Regions from separate parts of the Homo sapiens genome. Here region 2 is linked to region 1. Evidence: promoter capture Hi-C in 16 types of primary human blood cells and fetal thymus (Javierre and others, 2016). All regions are on one chromosome and are shown on one strand. The core of a region is centred on a gene start or on the middle of the fragment in contact, and the rest is flanking DNA. Distances in the headings are between cores, read along the strand shown. Region 1 holds the start of RPF1 (ribosome production factor 1 homolog). Region 2 overlaps LINC01461 (long intergenic non-protein coding RNA 1461).

Region 1 (6,515 bases), core at 987-3,486:
TCCAGAAGAGGATCTGTCCTGCCTTTCCCCAGCCTTGCCTGACCAAAAATCTTTGCTTCACATGACAAGAGCCAAGCTCCAGGCCTAACCTGGGGGAGCTTCCCCATTCCCAAAGTCAGGGAGAGGTGTTGACCTCTGAAACACAAAGTTATATGCAAAATACCACCACTGTGTTACCGTATAGGTACACAAACATACACAGTAAAGGTAAAAGAAGTGCATGGAAAAAATAATCAAAAATTTCACGAGTGGTTATCTTCGGAGGGAAAAGCAATTATGAAGCAGACGAGGGGCTTCCAACATTCTTTGCTAATGCATTATTTCTTAAGCTGGGTAAATGATACAAAGAGGTTTATTATATTACTTTTGTATTTCTTCATACATCTGAAATACGTAATAATAAATTTTAAAAGAAAGTAATTCAACTTAAATATCAGGAGGGATTCCCTAATATAAGATAGAAAGCAAACAGCTAAAAATTTTATTTACCTTATCGCCAAGAGCCTCTCTTTCTTTTTTAAGTTTTTTCTTAGCTGCCAACTTTTCCTAAAGGGTTAAAAAAAAAGAGAACAATACTGAGAAACAACCAGTTATATCACAAACACATACTGAAACTACAAATTACTAATGCTATGAATACTCGAACTGGGCGGTCTTTGTAATCTATTGAAATAAGCATCTGGACGTGGAGTTTTCTACCTAAATTACTGTAAGCCAAATGAGCTGGCCAATCAATAAGATTTCTTTAACAAAGACCTGCTCCTTTAAAAAAATCTAAACTGGCAAGTTTGAACATTTAAAATTTGAGTAGCTTAACCTTTTTCCATAAAGCCTCAAATTAATTAAAGTATGTGATGGTTTCCACTGTGTTTTGTTTTGCCTAACTGGTGGCATCCTAAAGACGACCATGGTTATGCTGCTTGCTTCTCTTGAAAAGCACTAAAAATAGGAATGGGAGCTGAGTTTTCAGGTTGTTTTCCATAAAACCATCACCAGTTATTCACATATTTTATAATCAAAATATACTTCTAAAATTTAGTAAGAGCTTGCAAGGTGGCTTAAGATTATCTGTATTTGTATTGTCAATCTATATATTCTTCTGGAGATTTCTAGATAGAATGCTTGACAAAATAAAAAATATTCTTTTTTCCCCAGCACCTACTGATCCTCAATCCACCAGGTTTCAGATTAGAAATCATAGCTCCAATAAGTCTTCCAGGACATCCCTCCCCAATACGTGCATACCAGAATGAGTTAAACGCCCCTTGTATGTATTGAAACAGCACCTTGACACTGAACATGAGTAAGAACCAGTCCCGGGCCTCAGAAGGGCCAGTAAGAGGAGGCAGACACATAATAATAATATTGTGTGAACTTCTACGATGTGCAAGAATAAGCAAACGTTTTCTTCCAATTGCAATTTAACCAGAAATGAGCACTGCGACCTTGACAAGTCGTTTAAACCTCTTTACGTTTCAGTTTGTTTACCTACCAGAAACGTATAAGGATAAAGCTGAAAAGAACAAATACAATTACCAGAAACTTTACAGTACTAATTTCGGTAAGGAGCTCCTGCAGGAATCAGAGAAGCAGTATTTTGGATTTATTACGTATTGCCTCCATTTCAGATTCTGCAAATTAACCAACGCTACCTAGACGGACCAAAGGGCTGAGACTTTTGCCTTCTGGGCCAGGAGGGCGTAGTTTTCACTACTAAGCCAACTGGCCTTACAGCTTTCCTTGTGAATCTAGCGTCCCAGGAAAGAGCCTATCAAGATAATCTTCCACCTTGACGCTCAGGCAAAAGGCTGAACCTAGAGTCTCCAAACTAGGGCGAGGGGACCAGAACACGTGGGCCGCGACGCCACCCTTCCCACGGAGCCACAGAGAACACTTTTGAGACCAGCAGACAACCACAGATGTGCGCCCCGCGACCGCCCTAAGCGTCAGGAACAACGCGCAAGCGCCCGGCAGCCCCCGCCTCTCGCGTACCTTCCGCTGCTGCTGTTTCCACCGCGTGAACATTAAGTGTCGCCGCTGTTTGTTTTTAATCTCCGAAATGCTAAAGCCTGGCGGAAAGGCAGCCGCTTTCGGGGGTTGGACCCCGTTTTCCGTCGCCCCATCCCCAGCGCCTGCAGCCTCCTGAAGTTCTTCGGCAGCGGCTTTCCGTTTTAGACTTTTCTTCCCGCTGCTGCTGCTCTTATCCCCGGCTTTCGCCATGGTCTTGGCTCCTTTGCTTCCGTACGGAAACGGAAATAGCCTTCTCCTGTGACCCCCTTCCTTAACCTTTTACTTCCGGGGTCGCAAAGTTTTTGACGCTAGATGTGTTTTGTGAGTTTTAGCCATTCAAGAAAATAGTAAAGCTGAGGCTTGAGGAAACTTTAGGCAGTTTGCCCAGCTGTATAAAGAGTGAGATGATGAGTTTGGGCACTCCTTGCGCATCTATGTGCCCAGCCCTCAAAATAATGGAACAACAACAAAAACCGTGCCTGGATTAGTTTACGTTTTACTTGAGGGAAACCTAAAATGAGCATACAAATAAATTATGGTGAGCTACAGAGTAAGACATGGTATGGAAAAAAAATAGAACAGGATAAAAGAAGATGAAGAGACATTCATCTTTTTGAGACGGAGCCTTGCTTTAATGCCCAGGCTGGAGTGCAGTGGCACGATCTCCGATCACTGCAAACTCCTCCTCCTGAGTAGCTGGGACTACAAACACGTGCCACCATGCCCGGCTAATTTTTGTATTTTTGCAGAGATGGAGTTTCACCATGTTGGCCAGGCTGGTCTTGTACTCTTGATTTCAGGTGATCTGTCCGCCCTGGACTCCCAAAGTACGTTGCAATTTTAAATAGGATTCTCAGAGTAGGCTTCATTGAAAACGTTACATTGAGCCAAGGTTTGAAGGAGGTAATGGGCTAAACTAGTTATCTGAGGGAAGAGCTGTTAATCTGAGAAAAGCTGGTTATCAAGGAGAAAAGCTGTCCTGGCAAAGCAAACAGCCAGCTCCAATGCTCCTAGTCAGTAGCAAGCCAGGAAAGGCAAGAAGTGTTGAGATTGGACAGGTGGTGTAGAGTTTTGTAAGGACTTTGGCTTTTATTTTATGTGAGATGAAGATCTCTTATAGAATTTTGAGGAAAAGAATGGTATGATCTTAACATCTTAAAAGTATCAGGCTGGTGCAGTGGCCCATGCCTGTAATTTTAGCACTTTGGGAGGCCAAGGCAGGAGGATTGCTTGAGCCTGGGAGTTCAAGACCAGCTTTGGCAACACTGTGAGACCCCATGTCTACAAAAAGTAAAAAAATATATATATCTGTTTGGGCATGGTGTACATCTGTGGTCCCAGCTACTCAGGAGGCTGAGGCAGTAGGATCCATTGAGCCTGGAAGGCTAGGTTGCAATGAGCCATGTTGGTGCCACTGCATTCCAGCCTGGGTGAGAGGGTGAGACCCTCTCAAAAAAATAAATAAAAATAAAGTAAAAGCGTCATTCAGAATCTTCTTTTGAGAAGAGCCTATGCAGGGGCAGGGTGTGTGGAAGAAGGGAAGAAATGATAGTGGCCTGAACCAGGGTAAGTCTTGTGTAGGTGGTTGAGAAGTGATTCCTCTGGAAGGTAAAGTTACTGATGGAACTGAAGGGAGGACATGAAAGAGTCAAGGATGACTCCAAGACTTTCGACCTGAGTGATTCAAAGGATGGAGTTACCATCAGGTGAAATGCGGGAAAGTTCAGATGGAACAAATCTGAGAGGTAAGATCAAGATTTCAGTTTTGGAAATGTTAAGTTTGAGATACTTTTTAGTGATCTGATTGGTGGTGTCAACTAGTCAGTTGGGATGTATGATTCTGCAGCAGGACAGAGAGGTGTGGGCTAAAGATCAAACTTTGGAAGTAATTGGCACATAGGTAGTATTTCAAACCATTAGAATGAGTGTAGATAGAAAACTGAAAAAAGAAGATCAAGGACTGAACCCTGGAGGAGTCCTGCATGAAGAGATGGAAAGAAAAGGAGGACCCAGCAAAGGAGAAGGAGAAGAGAAAATCAAGAGAGTAGAATGTCATGGAAGGCAAGTGAAGAAAGTGTTTTCCTAGTGGTTAAATTTGCTGTATTCTTCATTCTAATTTTATGAAAATGCTTTCCAAATAGCAACAAGAAATCCCTTTTGATTTACTGTTAGGAGTCAGTTTTCCAGAATCTGCCTTAATTTCAAATTTTATGTACCAATATCTATATTTCGTGTTTTGAGAATCCAATATGTTTTTGTCCACATTTCATTTTTCACCCATTCAAATTCTATTTAACAACAGCAGGATATTAAAAGCATCAAAACTGTGTCTTCCAGAACACAAGCTCCATCCAAACCTGCTATTAGATCACAAATTGAAAATTGTTGTTAAAAAACTTAAAATCATTATGTTTAGATCCAAAATTGGATTTAAGTTATATAATACAAAAAAAGGAAAAAAATAGCATTGAGTTTTAAAATCACTGACATATAGATTTGGCTGCAGTAAATCATAAAATTTATCTGGACATGGTGGCTCATGCCTGTAATCCCAGCACTTTGGGAGGCTGAGGTGGGTGGATCACTTGAGGTCAGGAGTTCGAGACCAGCCTGGCCAACATGGTGAAACCCCATCTCTACTAAAAATAGAAAAATTCGCTGGATGTGGTGACAGTTGCCTGTAATCCCAACTACTCAGGAGGCTGAGACAGGAGAATTGCTTGAACCTGGGAGGCGGAGGTTGCAGTGAGCTGAGATGGTGCCATTGTACTCCAGCCTGGGTGACAGAGTGAGACTCCATCTCAAAAAACAAAACAAAACAAAAAAAACCCCAAAACCATAAAATTTCATATATAGTTTATTTAAAGGGGGGTAATCAAGTCAAAAAGGAAGAGTAGTCCTGGGGCTGTGGCTCATGCCTGTAATCCCAACACTTTGATAGGCCAAGGTGGGAGAATAGCTTAAGCCCAGGAATTCAAGGTTGCAGTGAGCTGTGATTGCATCACTGCACTCCAGCCTGGGTGACAGAAGGACCCTGTCTTAAAAATAAATAAATAAATAAATAAATAAATAAATAAATAAATAAAAGAACAAGAGGAGGGGGAGAAGAAGAAGAAGGGGAATAAGTAAATCTCCATCCTGGAAATACAGACTGAGAAAATATTTTGAAAGTCTCTTCTAACTGTAACGTTTTATCTCCCTACATATAATATTTCCTTTTCTCATAAGAATACAAAATAGTTTTGAAATAGATTTAGATAACAGTGTTAAATTTATTTAGAAGCACCATACAAATGAGATCATTAACTCCTTAACTTAGACTTCCTTTTTTTTTCTTCATGCCGTATTTATAATAACAATTGTATGAGTTGAATGAAAGGATTTCTATAATCAGAATAAGTCCTTATTCTTAAGTCACAAAAACATTGATTAATTCAACAAATATGTATTAAATGCTACTCTGTAAATGAATAGGGTGGGTTGTGTTCAGATCTTGGCTCAATCACTTAGATGCTATAAAATCTCAGTTAAATCATAAAATGTCTGTGGGTCTCAATTTGTCTGTAAACTGGGGCTAATTATACTGCCACATAGGATGTATAGAGAGGAGTAAAGATGTATATTAAAGAACCAGACACACTCAATAAATGCTAGCTAGCTATTTTTACCATTTATTGGTGTCAGAGACTGTTCTAACTAGTGTGGAAGAAAAAGGCATCATGTTTGCCATTAAGTAGTGTACAATTTTAGAAGAAGATGAAACACAAGAATAGAGGTCACTGTAGAGTGCTTTACGAGGTTCATTTCAGCCGTTCACTTTCTCTCACCAATTCTTTCATTGCCCATTATTTTCCAGGCCCACTTCCAATAGAGTATATGTTATTTTAAAATAAAGCACTTACTTTTAATACTTAATACAATTTTTGCCTATTTGTTTTGATTCTGACATTTGGGGCACGCTGGAATACAACTCTTAGGCACCAGGTGAGTTCAGTGATCCAAATCAAGATTCTCTTCAGAAAATTTGACCTATTATTTTACAGTATGACTTAAGCTTTTTACATCACAGAAACCCATTCCGAAGGCACAAAATATGAATCCATTGCATCAGAATAAGGAATAACCAATTTGGTTGTTGGCACATTTTTTATTTACAATGTTGTATAGGCCTTTGACAAACATAAAGTAAATTAAAGCTTCCTGACTTGAATTATGCCCTACACTCTACTGGTGGGAATAACAGAACTATTATAGAACTAACCTCTCATCTGTGGATGCTTCAGTAGTACCCAAGAGCTATTGTTGGCATTTAAACCACTTATCCTAAGAAGTTCTGAGAGTTCTTTTTTTTGTTTATTGTATTATTTAAGTTATCTTAATGACTAACAAGGTTTGTTTCTCAGGATTTACTGACCCAGGAAGTATGTTGAAATGTTATTACAGGGATTCATAGTGTCAATTAGATTCTCACAATGTCAGCTCTCCTTTGAAATAGACACATAGAC
Region 2 (6,751 bases), core at 673-3,172, 130 kb before region 1:
CCTGGTAGAAGGGTGGTTTCCTTTTTGGCTCCATTTGCAGCACCATCTGAAGCTTGATGGTTTCTAGGTGAGAAGAGAAACTTTACAAGGAGGTTTAGAATATAGGGTCCAAATATATATAAGACTACCATTATTAGTGAGGCACTATAGGCCATAACCATGACAACAGAGTTTGTTTGATATCTGTGAGCCATTTAGATGGGTTGTGCTGTTGTAACTGGGTGTATGGGGCTTGGCTTTGTTTAGCTCCCTTGGTCTTACTGTCCCCGCCAGAAAAGGAAACCTTGGGGTTATAGGTTACCTGGCAGGATTTGCAGCATAAGTGCCCAGAACTAGCACATTGTTCCAGATTTTTATATTACCCATTCCTTTCTGTCTCCTTTGAGCCACAGCTGGAGATTGATGATTGGTTTACAGGAATAAGCATGATTAGTTTAAAATGTTGGCAAGAACTTACAAACAACTAATGAGACTAGAAGTCAATGACAGATTGTATTAGTCCATTTTCACGCTGCTGATAAAGACATACCTGAGACTGGGCAATTTACAAAAGAAGGAGGTTTAATGGACTTACAGTTCCACTTGGATAGGAAGGCCTCACAATCATGGTGGAAGGCAAAAGGCATGTCTTACATGGTGGTGGCAAGAGAGAAATGAGAGCTAAGCAAAACAGGTTTCCCTTTATCAAACCATCAGATCTCATGAGACTTATCTACCATGAGAACAGTATGGGTGAAACTGCCCCCATGATTCAATTATCTCCCACTGGGTCCTTCCCACAATTCTGGGAGTACAATTCAAGATGAGATTTGGGTGGGGACATAGAGCCAAACTATATCACAGATGTACAGTAAGTGTGGAACATAATTTCTCTCTCCAGTTCTCATTTTTATGAAAAACAACTTATGATAGGACTGAGCTGGTTGCAGAATAAACTTTAGTCCTATACTTGGCCTGATTATCTGCAAAAAGTACAGCAAGAATAATTACCTCTGTGTATTTTGATTGGTTTTGATAGAACTCTGTTCCACAAGGAATCTTGGATAGGACTTTTTGAAGCCAAGCCCAGCCATGAGTTTGTACCCTCAAATACCTGTGAGTTGGATAAACTTCTTTCTTCTTGAGGTTCCAGGAGCATGGGGTTTCCGGGCCTGTTAGAAAGTGACATTCTTTACGCACCACAGGTCAGGAACACTGTACAGAGACTGTGTAGACAAGGTATGCAGCCAGTTTTCCCAAAGGGCTTTCATTGGCTCTGCAAGTCAAAGCCTTGAAGTCAAAGCCTTGGTAAAACAATCAGTTTTTCCAATTGTGTTTTGTTGCAAAAGAAAATGGATTCTTGTTGCACTGATGCAAATAACTATATAGTTGTAATTCAAGAATACTTATAACTAGTTTCCAAATTCTAGAAGAACTAGGCAGAGAGAAACAAACATGCTCCAAACATTGTTTACAGGAGTATAGTTTACTTAGTTCTTAAAGGCTTTTAAGAAAATTTCCTTGACTCTGAAAAACAAAATAAGGATCACCAGTGTTACAAGCATAAATCAAGAATATTGCTTTAGTTTTCTATTAGTTCAGCCCATTCCATTAACTCTTGATCTGCTTGTTATTCATAAACATTTCAGCTTTGTATGAGTCCTATACATTTTTTAATCAAAAACCTGCATTTAAGAGCACCTATGTAAGTTCCACAGCTGATTAGAAACTATTTTTTTTAAGAAAAAGATTCAAACAAGACAACAATTGTTTGTAAATGACAAAATGTCCAGGGTGGTTACAGTCAAGAACATGATTGACAAATTTGGTTGTTTCTGTGGCTTACAATAACCTAACATAACAACCTTAATTGTGATTAATAGCGCGTATTATTCAGACACTAGTACCTTAGACATTCCATACAGTTTTGGAACATATGTTAATATTATTCCCTAAAATATAACCTGAAGAGTATTAGACATCATTTTGGCAATTCCATGTACCTAAACAAGTTAAATAATCCTATTTACCTCTCTTCTGGATGTTCTAGGAGCCCTGTGCAGAACAAAAAGCTAGGGGCTAGGAAAGACAACCTTGAAACTAAAGTTTGATTTTGGGAAGCCTGTTAAATATGTTCAAAATTTAAAACACTTGATATTAGATTACTGTAAGTTTTTTGTTTTGCCAAAATTATGAGTCAAAAATTTGAAAAAGCAAAAACCATTCATCAGCCCTTTCTATTACATGAAAATCCTATTCAAGAGAGAATGTTAAATTTCACCCTTGCATTTGTTTGCTATTAATGTTAACCCTGATTTTTAATGAAACTTTATAGACAATCCTATTCAATCTTAACCAGTTTGACCATGAGGTGAGATTTACACAAACCTTTTATGACCCTCTACAAATTTTGCTAAAGAGTAGATCAGCATTTTAAGAAAACCCTGTGCTTGCATTTTAATCCTTAATTTATAAAACTATATAATACCCCTTTGAAATTAGTTAATATGTTCATACACAGAGTTTCCTTTGCAAGATTAGTTTTTACAATCTTTTTACAATTTGCTTAAACCTTCTGCTTTATTTTATTTAAGACAATCCTTTATGGCTAGGCAAAATGTACATTTTCATGCCTTCTTATCTTTAATTAAAAACAGCTTTTACTGTTTTTTTACACACCTTGCATGCAAATCCATGTTCACTAGTCTCATTACATGTCATAATGGTAACACTTAGCAATTTTTAACTTTGATGTAAAACCTGGTAGGTTGTTTTAATTATGTGCTAGATGCAGATAAAGTTTGACTGCTTTCAGCATCATTAGGGGCATGGTTACTTCCATATGTTCCCAGGCCTTACCAATTGTGAAGCAGGCAAGTAGACAATATTTAAAGGCTAAAAAAGCAGTTACAACCTTAAAACATTTATCAAACCTAGTATCTGACCTGCATAATTTAGATCACATTTTTACATCCTGAAGACATTTGTATTTTACCAATAGTTTCTAAGACTGTTTTTATTTTTGAAGATTAAAGTTGTGTGAACTGAAAGGTACCACAGCTTTTACTTTTTCTTTAAAAATACTTTATTTAAGTGCTTATTTTTCTTAGTCCAATTAATTGGAGCTCTTTTCAAATAGACATTACACACATAACACATATATAACCACACAGACAAACAGAAAAAGATCCAGTGGTTCTAAAATTTTTCATTTGCTAATTTCCCAATTGGATTATTAGCCTCCTGGTGAGACCCTTTAAGAACAGGGCTAGGAATACAGTTTCCAGGGCCTAATAAACAAGCAAAGCTGGAAGACAAAGATAGATTTTGAGAACTACTTATTCACCTTTAATTCCAGGTGTTCCATGAGGAAAACAGATTTTTCCCAAAATGGGATTTGTGGCACCTTTTCTGTTTTCCCAAGGAGTCCCAGGCTACCAGAAGTCATTCTAGGGTCTTTCATGCATGCACCAAGAGTGGTAAGTCACAGTTTTCTCAGTTGACTGAGAAAAAAAGACCTTTTCCAGGAAAACAAGATCTATAAAGAGAAAAACATAAAGGCCTTTAAAATATACCCATAGGTTTGATATCCACTTTGAATTAAGCTGAGTGCTCTTTAGGAAAATCCTTTTTCACAAATAAAACTTTACAGTGAAGATAAACAGTGATTCTTACCATTTTTCCCCCAGTTTGCACCACTACTTGTTCACAATCATGTTTAGGTTCTCCAGTTTTCTCTGGGAGAAAGTGGCTGGGCTCAGGAAGTGGCAGGTTTTCAACTGGACTGCAGATCCCTTTAGCAGCAAAGCTTGATATTTGAGGAGGCAATTGTCTGTTAGCCAGACTTTCCTTAGAGGACAGTAGTCTTGTTATATTGCGTGGAGCTAAACAGTTAAGTTATTCCCCATTGTTAACCCATTGGCTGTAGAGCTGGACCTCCAGTCTTAGTCAAAACTCCCAGGGCTATTTTCTTCCTTTCCAATATACATAAAGATTAAATACCTTCCCTATGGGAAGGCTGAGAACTGGTGCTTTAAGCAAGGCTTGCTTTAGCTGGTTTAAGGCTTTTGTGTTTTAGGTTCCCAAGTTAGGGAGCTGCTTGAGTTTCTTTTAAGAGTTGGTATAAAGGATGAGCTATTTCACCATACCCTGGTGCCCACATTTTGCAAAATTCAGTAATGCCCACATTTTGCAAAATTCAGTAATGCCCAATAATTTTCTTAACTCTTAAAGGAAACGGGGTTAATCCTTTCCTCACCTGGTACTCTGGTTCCTTCTGTGCTGTGTCTGTCCCACAGACCTTGGCCGATGGGTGAAATGAGTACTCAGACACAGGTATGCAGTGTAAGAGCAGCTAGGTGACTGCCTGGCTCCAGTGGCCAGACAGCAGTCCCGAGAAGCTGGAGCTGTTTGCTTTTATTCAGTGCAGGCACAATGCCGAAAACCTGGAGCCAACACAACCTGCAGGTAATTAACATTTATTGTTCCCCTTTCAGGGAATGTTGCATGGGGATGATCCAAGGTCAGTTCCTGGTCAACATAAGTAAACAAACCGGTTTAAGATAAATTCCCCCACACTCCCTTGTACCTACTCCTTGCCCTCTGCCTTAGGGTTATAGAACAGCTGTCTTCAGCCATTCTTCCCTGGGGCTCTGCAGAAACTTCCGACCTTTCAGAAGGTTTGTGTCCTTTCCCTATAGTTTTTTCACCACCCTGACCGATCCCCCACACTTCTGATAAGATTAGGCCTAGGTACTTTACTGAAGTTTGACAGAGCTGAGCTTTAGATTTTGAGACCCTATACTCCCTTTTAGCTAAGAAATTGAGAAGAGTCTTAGTGCCTTCCTGAGACATCCTTGAATGGGGCACAGAGGAGAGTGTCATTTACATACTGCAAAGTTTCAACTTGAGAGTGAGAAAAACTAGAAAGATTTTTAGACATGGCCTGTTTCAGCAACTTCCTTTTGATATCAGGGGCTGCCTGAGTGATGAACCTGTTTTTTGTTGAATTGGAAGACAGGGAGGTGTGTTTTATTAAAGCTTCTCTCAGCCTTTCCAAAAAGGTAGGGAGATTTTTATCTGGTTTCTGATTCAATAAGGACAGTTTAGAGTAATTAAGAGGTTTGGTCCTAGTCCTTCTTAGGCCCTCTGATATGCACATTAAAAAGTATTTCCTTTTCCATTCATCTATGGGGTCACAGGGATTCCAGTCAGGATTGTCAAGAGGTATAGCCTCTCTCCCTATTGAGATTGTTTTTTTCTGTTATTTCCTCACCTTCCTTATCTCCCCTTTTCCTTTTTGGTCACTATAGGGAACATGTTGTTCATCTCCGAACTTTTCTGCTGCTTGCAGAGCTGTCTGCTTTTCAGCTGCAGTGAGGGTTTGGCTGAGAAACAACAGCACAACATCCCTCCATGTGAGGTAAAACACTTAAGTTAAATTTTGGAAGGCCTCTATATATCTATTAGGGTTATCAAGAAATCAGCCCATTTATCTGCCTAAGGTCCTGCAATGAGAAGGGAATAAGTACCTTAATGGTGCCCCTTCCATCTGGCATTTCTTGTAGGGGTAGGAGTGAAGTCTGGGCAGTGGGGAGCTTTGGAGATGGTGGAGCTGGAGGAGCTGATGGTGCAGCTGGAGGGGGCCCTGGACAAAGGGGACTGGAAGGACTGGGGCACTTAGAAGCTGCCTCTAATGGTTCCTCCAAAACTTGCTCTTCTGACTTAGGGGAACTACTCTCCACAGACCTGTCTGATATGATTGCTAAGAGGGCTGAGTTGGTTTTGCAATGCTTGCAAAGGTCTGGGTTGTCTCGCAGGGCAAAGGAAGCCTGCACATAGAGAACCTTGGACCATTTGCTCTTCCATCTACAGAAGAGATCTAATTGCTGGATAAGATTAAAGTTAAGGTTCCCTTTAGCTGGCCAGGTCTGTTCATTCCTGAGAGGGTAAGAAGGCCACACCCTTGTGCAACAGAAAATGAGCCACTTTTTCTTCAGAGTTTGGGTGTCAAAGGAGTTCAAAATGTACTCCAGCAGAGTGCAAGCCAAAATGACTTGCTACCCATCCTGGAAAAGAGACAAGAGGAGAGGCATCCCTCAGTCTCCTTGTTCTTTTTGGTGTGACCCAGGGTGGAGGGGATGACAGTGGGAGTGTCCCCCTGACTGTTCTCTCTCCTTGGTCCCTGGGTCCCAGCACAGTGTGTGCCTCCCCATGGTTGCAGGTGTGACCTTCAAACCATGGTCCCAGAGGAGCTAAGTAATGGGGATAGTCACGCTTACCCATGTGACCTTAGTCCTTTGCCTGATAATTGCCCTTTGACCTCTCAGACTTGTGTGATCTGTGTGACTCCTTGATGAATGGGTATCAGGAGAGATTATGTAACAGTTGCATTTAAGCAAGGCCCCTTAATGGAGGGAGTGTACTGGGCTGAGCTTTATACTCTGCTATTATGGACCAGACTAGAGAATTTATGTTTAGATGGTGGTTCCAGTTAACTTCCAAACATAAAATCCCCTTTCTATTTAGACGAAATACTAGTTGCAAGCAGAATAGGTGTCTCAAGAGAATGTAAGGGTCAAATGGCAGCCTTTCTGCTAATGGAGAGAGTATTGAGACAAAAATTTGGTTTTGGAGGACATTTTTTTCCTCACTGCTGAAAGCAGAGTTCTCCCACTCTCAGAGGTACATAAGGTTTGATCTCTTTTAGAGGGATGTAAAAGGGAGAAAAAGTGGAAAGCTAGAGGCTTTTGGCAAAGGGCAGACGAGGTTG

The links. Contacts are between HindIII fragments. The CHiCAGO score rates a contact against its expected background, and 5 or more counts as called.
Region 2: a contact is called between a fragment that was not itself captured here and the fragment with the promoter of RPF1 in region 1, in 1 of 17 cell types (neutrophils). The highest score is 13.6, in neutrophils.

What each region holds. Positions count from the first base shown.
Region 1 is chr1:84,474,987-84,481,501 of GRCh38, reverse strand. RPF1 (ribosome production factor 1 homolog) reads right to left here and starts at 2,236. Exons shown (of 9, transcript NM_025065.7): 1 at 1,993-2,236; 2 at 490-546. The coding sequence starts at 2,220. RefSeq lists enhancers at 1,660-1,819, 2,015-2,575. The HindIII fragment of the contact is 6,088 bases long and covers 1-6,066 here.
Region 2 is chr1:84,604,791-84,611,541 of GRCh38, reverse strand. The region is part of intron 2 of LINC01461 (long intergenic non-protein coding RNA 1461); the gene reads left to right. Among named protein-coding and RNA genes, the nearest start is that of LINC01461, 13 kb to the left of the region's middle. The HindIII fragment of the contact is 3,735 bases long and covers 55-3,789 here.